Linked DNA regions of Homo sapiens: region 1 is linked to region 2. The links are contacts of gene promoters, found by promoter capture Hi-C in human tissues and cell types (Jung and others, 2019). All regions are on one chromosome and are shown on one strand. The core of a region is centred on a gene start or on the middle of the fragment in contact, and the rest is flanking DNA. Distances in the headings are between cores, read along the strand shown. Region 1 overlaps OR7C1 (olfactory receptor family 7 subfamily C member 1). Region 2 holds the start of CYP4F2 (cytochrome P450 family 4 subfamily F member 2).

Region 1 (5,617 bases), core at 2,021-4,520, 1.1 Mb after region 2:
AACGGTGCTGGGAAAACTGGATATCCATATGCAGAAGAATGAAATTAGACCCTCATTTCACACCATATACAAAAATTAAATGAAAATAGGTTAAAGACTCAAACACGGATGAAACTAGAGGCCATTATCTTAAGTGAAATAACTCAGAAATAGTCAAATACTGCATGTTCTCACTTACAAGTGGGAGCTAAATAATGTGGACACATAAATATAGAATGTGGAATAATAGACATTGGAGACCCAGAAGGGTGGGAAGATGAGAGGGGGTTAGGACTGATAAATTACTTAATGGGTACAATGTACACTATTTGGGTGATGGTTACACTAAAAGCCCAGACTTCACCACTAGGCAAAATACCCATGTAACAAAACTGCACTTACACCCCTTAAATTTACACAAATTTTATTTATTTTTTATTTTTTTAGACGGAGTCTTGCTCTGTCGCCCAGACTGGAGTGCAGTGGCACAACCTTGGCTCACCACAACCTCCACCTCCCAAGTTCAAGCAATCCTTTTGCCTCAGCCTCCCGAGTAGCTGGGATTACAGGCACATGCCACCACGCCCACCTAATTTTTTATTTTTAGTAGAGATGGGGTTTCGCCATGTTTGCCAGGCTGGTCTCGAACTCTAGACCTCAAGTGATCTGACCGTCTCAGCCTCCCAAAGTGCTGGGATTACAGGCATGAACCACTGCACCCAACCAATTTACGCAAATTTTTAAAAACATTTAAGGATAACACCTGAAGCTATAAACCTTCCAGAATAAAATATAGGCAGAAAGCAGTAGTCTGGGCAATGGTTTTAAAATATACCCCTCAAAACACAGGCAACGAAAGTGAAAATAGACAAGTGGGATTACATCAAATTAAAAACCTTCTGCACAGCAAAGAAAACAATCAACAGAGAGGCAACCTATGGAAGGAGAGAAAACATTTGCAAACCACACATATGATAAGGGGTTAATATCCCAATATAGAAGAAACTCAACATCAAGGAAACAAGTAACCCAGTTTAAAAAAAAAAAAATAGGCAGAGGACATGAAGAGACATGTCTCAATAGAAGACATACAGCTGGCCAACAGGTACATGAAAAAATGCTCAACATCACTGATTATCAGAGAAATGTACATTATAACCACAATGAGATGTCACCTCAAACCTGTTAGGACGGCTATTATAAAAAAGGCAGGTGGCTGGGTGCGGTGGCTCATGCCTGTAATCCCAGCACTTTGGGAGGCTGAGGCGGGTGGATCACGAGGTCAAGAGTTGAAGACCAGCCTGGCCAAGACGGTGAAACCCCATCTCTACTAAAAATACAAAAATTAGCCGGCGCAGTGGCGGGCACCTGTAATGCCAGCTACTCAGGAGGCTGAGGCAGGAGAATTGCTTGAACTTGGGTGGTGGAGGTTGCAGTGAGCTGAGATCGCACCACTGCACTCTAGCCTGGGCGACAGAGCGAGACTCCATCTCAAAAAAAAAAAAAAAAAAAAAAAAAAAAAGACAGGAGATAAGTGCTGATGAGGATCTGGAGAAAAGGGAGCCCATGTACCTTTTTGGTGGAAACTTAAGGTAGTACAAGCATTATAGAAAATAGTTGGGGGTTCTCCAAAAAACTAAAAATAGAACTACCATATGTGTATAATCCCATGACTGCATATATAGCCAAAGGAAATGAAATCAGTATGTTGAAGAGATATCTGCACTTCCGCATTCGTTGCAACACTATTTACAAAAGCCAACATATGGAGTCAACCTCAGTGTCCGCCAAAGAATGAATAGATCAAGAATACGTGGTGCATATCCACAATAGAACACCACTCAGCCTTTAAAAAGAAGGAAATCCTGTCATTTGTGACCACACGGATGAACCTGGAGGACATTACATTAAATGATAAGCCAGGCACAGTGAAACAAATTCTGCACACTCGTACATGGGGAATCTTAAAATGATAATGAACTCATAGAAGTAGAAAGAAGAATGGTGACAATGGTGAGGGACATTTTGTGTTGTCCCAGCAATTGCTGATGAGGAAATAAAAGATACAGGGAGATGCTAACACAGGTGTGGAGGACACACTAGGAGAATGTTGTCCATATTCTGAGATTGGGACTGATTGAGGGGTTGTGCTATGGTACGTAAGATTTAAATAGCATAGAATGAATAAAATGCAGAAGAAAATATTCAAGCACATCATATATGATAAGGGTACCTACAAACTAGTTTCATGATACTCTTTCTTCAGCCACCTGTGTGTGTATATTTGCATGTGCAGGCATGCTGGCTCATGATGTAAAAGGTATTTCTTACTTTCAGACACAAAGAGTGTGGAATCCACTGCAGTAAAGGCGGAATAGTTTTGTTTTGTTTTTTGTTTTTTGTTTTTAAGGCAAGTTCCTGGGAAATGCAGCCTGAATGAAGAGCTCAAGAGAAGAGCCACACTGTTGGGAGAACAGGTAGCCAGCGTAGAACTGACATTATCTCCGGACTCCAGGGCCCATACCCTGAGCAGAATTTCATTGATCCACTTGCCTCATTACAGAATTCACATCAGACCCCTGATCTAATTGTTATTCCTGTATCTATTCCATATTTATGGACCACACATGTTTTGTTTTTGTTTTTATTTTTGCTTTGAGACAGAGTTTCACTCTTGTCACCCAGGCTGGAGTGCAATGGCGCGATCTCAGCTCACAGCAACCTCCACCTCCCAGGTTCAAACGATTCTCCTGCCTCAGCCTCCCAAGTAGCTGGGATTACAGGCACCTGCCACTACACCCAGCTAATTTTTGTATTTTTAGTAGAGACAGGGTTTCACCATGTTGGCCAGGCAGGTCTCGTGATCCACCCACCTCAGCCTCCCAAAGTGCTGGGATTACAGGTGTGAGCCACCATGCCCGGCCCACACATGTTTTTATATGGTCCAGTAGTAGATGAGGCAGGCCTTTCTCTCACTTTTCCTTGTGGGATCTGTTCTTTGTAATTCCCAGGTATTGAGTTTTTCCCTCTTTTCTGACAAATCCAGTGGGCACTCTCTAGTCCAATTCCGTTCCTCGTGCAAGATGCAAAGACCTCCCCAGACCATACTTTAGAAAATCCTGCCCCTGCCACGACAATCTATCATTTTTCTTCATATGACTTACCTCTGGGGACTTTATGTCAGACACACATTTATTCCATTGTTTTCTGCCCTTTCCATTACAAGGTAAGATCTAAATTAGCAGGGATTTCACCTGCTTTCTTCACTGTTGTGGTTTCACAAAAAGTTGTACGTCTACATAGGAACACTTTTTTTTTTCCTGTGTGATTTTTTTTCTTTAAGGTCTGGGATACATGTGCAGAACGTGCAGGTTTGTTACATAGCTATACATGTGCCATGGTGGTTTGCTGCACCTGTCAACCCGTCATCTAGGTTTTAAGCCCCTCATGCATTAGGTATTTGTCCTAATGATCTCCCTCCCCTTGCCCCCGACCCCCCAACAGGCCCCCATGTGTGATGTTCCCCTCCCCATGTCCATGTATTTTCATTGAGAAACACATTTTTTTAAATTAAGAACTTATTAAACAAAAGGAATGGCTGGGAAAATAAAGCTTGGTTAAATAAGGTGGATTCAAAACAACCACATTGAACAAAACTGAATAAAATTCTAAAATAAATGATCTATCCCGGCGCAGTGGCTCATGCCTGTAATCCCAGCACTTTGGGAGGCCAAGGTGGGCAGATCAACCTGAGGCCAGGAGTTTGAGACCAGCCTGACTGCCATGGTAAAACCCTGTCTCTACTACAAATACAAAAAATTAGCTGGGCAGAGTGGCGGCGCATGCCTGTAATCCCAGCTACTCGGGAGGCTGAGGCACAAGAATCACTTGAACCCAAGAGGTTGAGGCTGCAGTGAGCTGAAATTGTGCCACTGCACTCCAGGCTGGGTGACAGAGCGAGACTGTATCTCTAAATAAATAAATAAACGCATAAAAATAAAATAAATGATCAAAGAAAAAGATAGAAAATAACCATTAATCACATCAACATGGGTTTCGAATTTGAGATTAAGTTGACAAAAACTTGGAAATGAAAGAATATAAAAATATACTTTCTTAAAGCAGTGGAAGAAAACAACAGTATGTAAAGTTATGATTTCATCTTATACAAACTGAAATGGATTAAAATATGCTTACATGAAGAATACACAGGAAATCTCAACGTGGGTATAAGAATATGTTCCACATAGTGGCAAAAGATAACCACTATTTTTAAAAGTAGTTCTGATTAATTGGAAACGTGGAATCAACCTAAATGCCCATCAACAATAGACTGGTTAAAGAAAATGTAGTACATATACACCCTGGAATACTATGCAGCCATATAAAGGAATAAGATCATGTCCTTTGCAGGGATGTGGCTGGAGCTGAAAGCCATTATCCTCAGCAAACTGACCCAGGAACAGAAAACCAAATACCACATGTTCCCACTTATAACTGGGAGCTGAAGAGTGAGAACACGGGGACACAGGGAGGGGAACGACACACACTGGAGCCTGTCAGGGGGTGGGGGTGAGGGGAAGGAGAGCATTAAAAAAAATAGCTAATGCATGCTGGGCTTAATACCTAGGTGATGGGTTGATGGGTGCAGCAAACCACCATGGCACATGTTTACCTATGTAACAAACCTGCATATCCTGCACATGTACCCCCGAAATTAAAATAAAATTTTAAATTTAAAAAAAATAGATCTGATTGCAAAAAAGAAAAAAGAAAGGTGGCAATAAAGAAAAAAGATGTGGACACAGGAAGGGGAATATCACACACCGGGGACTGTTATGGGGCAGGGGGAGGGGGGAGATATACCTAATGCTAAATGACGAGTTAATAGGTGCAGCACGCCAACATGGCACATGTGTACATATGTAACCAACCTGCGTGTTGTGCACATGTACCCTAAAACTTAAAGTATAATAAAAAAGAAAGAAAAAAATGTGTGAAATAAGGTGGAAATACATATAAAAGGTGATTTATTGCGATGAAATATGTAGAAAGCTTTTTAAACTCTCTAAACTATCTAAAATGCAACAGAAGGGAGATACACAGTGTGACCCACTGATAGACCTGACCGCACAAAACTGATAAACTTTAACGCATTCACCCCAAGCGCATCTATAAATACAAAAAGAACTAAATGGCAAACAACAACGTTGGTGAAAAAACGTTCACCAACTCCCATTCTTATGTTTGAAAAAAATGCAATCAAATACAGGAATGAAAACACTGCAAACTCGCTATACAAAAGCAAAGATCTCGCAAAGACTGTTTGCAATAGAAACAGGAACTATCTAACAAACCCACTAATCGATTAAGCCTCACAAGTAAGGAAGTAATTGCAAAGTAAAGCTTGCTATCATACCCCTTTTCACTTATTAAATAAACATATTTTTTTCATCTGGATAACCCGCATGAGAAAAGATACTTTAAAATGTATGACTTATCAGCCGGGCGCGGTGGCTCACGCCTGTAATCCCAGCACTTTGGGAGGCAGAGACGGGCGGATCACGAGGTCAGGAGATCGAGACCATCCTGGGTTACACGGTGAAACCCCATCTCTACTAAAAAATTCAAAAAAATT
Region 2 (5,722 bases), core at 612-3,111:
GGCCCTGCCCCGCGGGAAGGCAGCTAAGGCCCGGCGAGAAATCGAGCGCAGCGCCGGTGGGCTGGCACTGCTGGGGGACCGAGTACACCTTCCCGAGCAGCCGCTGGCCCGGGTGCTAAGCCCCTCATTGCCCGGGGCTGGCAGGGCCGGCCGGCTGCTCCGAGTGCGGGGCCTGCCAAGCCTACGCCCACCTGGAACTCTAGCTGGCCCGCAAGTGCCGCGCGCAGCCCCGGTTCGTACTCGCGCCTCTCCCTCCATACCTCCCTGCAAGCTGAGGGAGCCGGCTCTGGCCTTGGCCAGCCTAGAAAGGGGCTCCTACACCTATAAGTGAGAATATGCGGTGTTTGGTTTTTTGTTCTTGCGATAGTTTACTGAGAATGATGATTTCCAATTTCATCCATGTCCCTACACAATGAGAACATATGGACACAGGAAGGGGAACATCACACTCTGGGGACTGTTGTGGGGTGGGGGGAGGGGGGAGGGATAGCATTGGGAGATATACCTAATGCTAGATGACGAGTTAGTGGGTGCAGCGCACCAGCATGGCACATGTATACATATGTAACTAACCTGCACATTGTGCGCATGTACCCTAAAACTTAAAGTATAATAATAATAATAAAAAAATCCAAAAAAAAAGAAAAGAAGAGAAAAGAAAGGGGCTCCCACAGTGCAGCGGTGGGCTGAAGGGCTCCTCAAGTGCCGCCAAAGTGGGAGCCCAGGCAGAGGAGGCGCCGAGAGCGAGTGAGGGCTGTGAGGACTGCCAGCATGCTGTCACCTCTCAGTGGGAGCAGGTGTGACAAGAGTTGGGCAAATCAGACCTTTAATCCACCCTGATAGGCTGGAGTGTGGGCTTATGGCATTTCTCCTTTGACCCAATTAACCTCCACTCCCAATGTATCTCTGTGCAGAAGGCTCAGCTAGGTGTATCAGCCATTGTAAATCCTCAACATAAATTATAATTTAACCTAGAATACAGAGACTAGGTAGCAGGAGGAGAGGAAATGTAGAGATACTAATCTCTTCTCCCTTATCAGAAAGAAACCTAGCATAAGAAATTTCACGCTTAATGGGCCAAAGAGTAAATCAGAAAACTCCATGGGTGATGGTATGCTCATGGTGGTGGTGGTGGTGATGGGGAATTATTTGCCCTCCTGTGACCTCCCTTGGATTAATTTCTCCCCAGGACAATGGGAAAAATCATTTAATCCTTGGAGTTTTTTTTTTTTTTTTTTTTTTTTTTTTTTTTTTTTTTGCTTGAGAGTGACTCTGATCCTGTTTCTGATGGTCATGTTCCTCAGCATCATACTGAGTAAGTCACTGGCCTTGTAGCATCTGGAGTGATTGGAGTGATCCAAGATCCCTAGTTCCCATGTCACAAATGAGGATCCCACATATCTGGGACAGAGATGGAACATTATTTCTGGGTGTGTCTATCTAATCTATTCATCCTATCTATCTAATTTCTCATCTATATATATATTTGCCTACCCATCCATCCATCAATCCATCTTAGCTGTACGTTTATCCATTCCATCTATTTATCCTATTATCTATGTATCTATCTATCATCTATTAATAGCTATCTATCCATCTGTCTAATATATCCATTATCTATATCTACTTTATCTATCTACCTAATGTATCCATCCTATCTACTCTATCTATCTGTGCATCTACCCATCCATCTGGACCCTGAGCTGATTCCTCTGCACCCAGCTGGCCTGACGCCAGGTGTTGATTGGCTGCCCAGGCTCAGGAGACACATCCAGGCTGCAGGGATTGGTTGGCCCAGCCCAACCCAGCCAGCCCTCCCACAGCCTTTGCTATATCAAGGGCCAGGGTCAAAGGCCTCCCAGCAGACAGAGAGAGGAGGTTGTCTGGGACAGACTGCTCCTGACAGAAGGTGCCAGGCTGGGGGTGGCAGGCCTGGGGGGGGTCCTGGCCTGGGATGGAGAGGGGCACTGCCCAAGGCCCACGCAGCTCCTGGGTGCTGGCCTGGAGGATGGGTGGTTTCCGAGTAACTGAAACCAAGCCCCTGGCAACCTCACAGTGATTCAGGCTGGGCCTTTCTGGACTTTAATCAGTCTCTCTCTCTCTTTCCCATTCTAAGTGCTTACTAGGGAACTGGAGGCCACTTGGCTGCTGGTTTTGGTTGGGCCTTTCTGGACTTTACCTCTCAGCCCCTTTTTACCCATCCCTGAGCCCTCCCTGCTCTACCTCCGGCACTGCCCGTCCCTGCCTCTCCACTGTCCCTGGAGGTCCCTGGGCCGTTCTCTGGGCCTCAGGATCTCACCGTCCATCCCGTCTGCCCTGCAGGATGTCCCAGCTGAGCCTGTCCTGGCTGGGCCTCTGGCCAGTGGCAGCATCCCCTTGGCTGCTCCTCCTGCTGGTCGGGGCCTCCTGGCTCCTGGCCCATGTCCTGGCCTGGACCTACGCCTTCTATGACAACTGCCGCCGCCTTCGGTGTTTCCCACAACCCCCAAGACGGAACTGGTTTTGGGGACACCAGGGCATGGTGAGTGTGGCAGCAGGATGGGTCTAGGTCTCAGGATGGATGGACTTCCTGAGGGGTACGAGGCTTAGGGAGTGGGGGTGAAGGGGTGGGCTGGGATCTGGGGTGGCAGAGAAGCAGAGGAGGCATCTTACTCATTCCTCTGCTTATTCATTTCTGTGAGGTGCCTACGCAAGCCCTTCTCACTTCCTTGTCCTCCCACTCCAGGCCTGCATTGAATCCTTTTCCTGCCTGTCTTCCCACATTAATGCACCTCTGCGGGGCTCCTGGGCAGAGGGTTGGCTGCACAGAGAGGCGAGTCCCTGGCATTCCCACATTCTCCATTGCTGGACTCGAGGCTTCTTATGCCCACTGTCCAGGGTCCTCTCCTTGCCTGGACTATTTCCTGTTATGAGGGTACAGCTGGGCCAGAGGAGAGGCATGGGCCGTCTCCCACTTCCACTACACCCGAAGGCACCTTTCTCTTATATTCTTCTTCTTATCTCCCTCTTATCAATGAGACCTGTTGCCAAACCCAGATAAAAGTTGGCCACTCACTTCACCTTTCAGAAGCTTTCCTTGGCCTTTCTCCTCCCCGTGACCTTGCCCTCTGACTTAGACCGCTCTCCTCTTTGGGGAATGTGGTCTTAGTCTGCTCATTTGCAAATGGCAGGATTGATGGATGTGTCCACAGATAAAGTGGAAGGGTGCACAGGACACACTAGCACAGAGCCTGCTGCAGAAGCTGCTCCCAGGTGGGAGCCATTGTCCTGATGGACAGTTAGAGTCACCTCTGCTCCACTAGTGGCTGCTGAAAAGGGAAGGTCTCCCATGTGCAGAACCTTCTCCATGGGAGGAACTGGAGCCTCTGTGGATCAGCCAGGACATGAAGGCATGTGGGGACCAGCCTTAGGGACATGTCCTGAGGCGATACTGCTCCCCACAAATCTCCCCTGTGAGGACCTCCCCATATAGCTGCCTCTGGGCTGAAATGACTCCCAGAAAAAGAAAATCCTTCCTCTCAAGATAACTGGGCCTCTGTGAGTGGACAGTGCGTCTTCTCCCTCTGCCCTGGGATGCACCCTTGGGACTTGGAGATGGACCCAAGAGAGATAGAGCAGGAGGAATGTGGATAGATAGATAGATAGAGCAGGAGGAATGTAGATAGATAGATAGATAGATAGATAGATAGATAGATAGATAGCTAATAGGATAGATAGATAGATGCACAGATAGGATGGATAGATGGATGGATGGATGGATGGACAGGCACGTAGGTAGATAGATAATAGAATAGATGGATGCATGGACACATGGATGCACAGATAGCATGGATGGATGGATGGATGGATGGATGGATGGATGGATAGATAGATAGACAAATAATAGGACATATGGATGCATGGACACACGGATGCACAGATAGGATGGATGGATGGATGGATGATGGATGGATGGGTAGATAGAGTAGATAGGATGGATAGATTATGTAGACAGATGGAGTAGATATATATGATGGATAGATTAGACGGATAGATGGCTATTAATAGATGATAAGCAGACAGACAGATGAATATATGGATGGATGAAAGCACAGATAAAATGGATTGATGGATAGATGGGTAGGCAGATAGATATATAGATAGAAAAATTAGATAGATAGGATGAATAGATTAGACACACCCAGAAATAATGTTTGACCAACTACCTGGGCATCCCTTAGCCCAGTCAAGTAGACACCTAGAATTAACTATCACAGAAGGTAATGACCCCTGCCTTGCTTGCAGGTCAACCCCACAGAGGAGGGCATGAGAGTTCTGACTCAGCTGGTGGCCACCTACCCCCAGGGCTTTAAGGTCTGGATGGGACCCATCTCCCCCCTCCTCAGTTTGTGCCACCCCGACATCATCCGGTCTGTCATCAACGCCTCAGGTACCATCTGGAACAGCTGGTGGGGCAGTGCATTTGAGGCCTGCACTTCCGCTATCCCCAAGCTCCTGTGTGGGCCCTGCAGTACTCTGGCCTCTCCTTTCCTTCCCTCTCAGCTATCTTCATCTTTCTTTCATGTATTCATCAATTTCCATCTCAGCGTCTCCTCTCTCTATTGCCATCTACCCCCTGTTCTGGTGTTCTGGGCTGCCCTGGAACCCTAAGAGACCTCAACCCAAGGCCCAGTCCTGGAGGAACCCCCAACTTTAAGGAGATGGACCTGGATAGAGATATCCCCAACTTCATGGGATCAGGAAAGGGCCAGAGGGAGATGGATCACAGCCCAGGGAAGAACAAGGTCTCTGCTGGGGCAGGCTGGAAGGCTTCCTAGAGGAGGAGTTACTGGAGCTGTGTCTGGAACAATGAGTAGGAATGTTTGAAAGGAGAGTGCAGGGTGAGGCAATTGGACATCGTTAGTATTCAAGGCCCCTTGCCAGGCCTAGCATCACCTTGCCTGTCCCAAAGCCTAGAACAATGAGGAGGACTTGTGGCTGGTGGGGGATCTGGGCTGCTACTTCCATGATGTCCACCTCTGGTGGGTCAATTCCCTTTACCCCATCCTATAGCTTGTCTGCCCTAAGTTCGTTGCTCTCCTGCTGCAGGTCCCGGGGATCTCCAAGAGGAGACTCCACCCCAGCTTGGGTCCCTTTCCTTGACCCCTGTGCTTCCCATCGTTGGACGGGCGAGGCTGAGCAGGGGGAATGGGCAGCATCCTACAGAGACCATGGCTCTGACCTCAAAATGCTGAGTGACTCTGGGCTGGTACCCAGCTGTCTCTGGTTATTGAAGTCTCTTTCAGTTGTGAGTGGTGGAAACCCAACCTGGTGTGGTCTAAGCAAAGAAAGATAATCTATTGACTTTAAAGTCCAGGGAGGGTGGCCTTCAGGCATGGCTGGATCCAGGTCTCACACAAGGTCACTGGAAATCTGTCTTTCTCTCTTGGCTTTAGCTTTCTCCATGTCGCTTTTCCTATCAAGGTGGCCTTTTCCTCATGATGTCAACGATGAGTCCCAGAAGCTCAGTTCTTATGGGAAAGGCCACCTTTCCCCTAGAGTTCCCAGAAATGGCCCATGGTTTACTTCTCCTGGCCTGGATCACAGGACCAATTTTTCACCCAATCCCTGTGTCTCTGATTGCCCAGTCTTGGTAGGCCTGGGTCTTCCAGAGCTACTGTTTTGGGGGCACAAAGAAGTTTGTTGGTTAAGGATTCAGGCCATGGGTGCAGACAGACCTAGT

The links. Contacts are between HindIII fragments. The study calls those that stand out against the background at their distance.
Region 1: a contact is called between a fragment that was not itself captured here and the fragment with the promoter of CYP4F2 in region 2, in 1 of the 25 tissues and cell types used here (dorsolateral prefrontal cortex).

The regions. Positions count from the first base shown.
Region 1 is chr19:14,818,258-14,823,874 of GRCh38, reverse strand. The region is part of intron 1 of OR7C1 (olfactory receptor family 7 subfamily C member 1); the gene reads left to right. Among named protein-coding and RNA genes, the nearest start is that of OR7A5, 14 kb to the left of the region's middle. The HindIII fragment of the contact is 5,601 bases long and covers 470-5,617 here.
Region 2 is chr19:15,894,213-15,899,934 of GRCh38, reverse strand. It overlaps CYP4F2 (cytochrome P450 family 4 subfamily F member 2), which reads left to right and starts at 1,861. Exons shown (of 13, transcript NM_001082.5): 1 at 1,861-1,909; 2 at 2,323-2,521; 3 at 4,285-4,429. The coding sequence starts at 2,324. The HindIII fragment of the contact is 5,329 bases long and covers 1-4,645 here.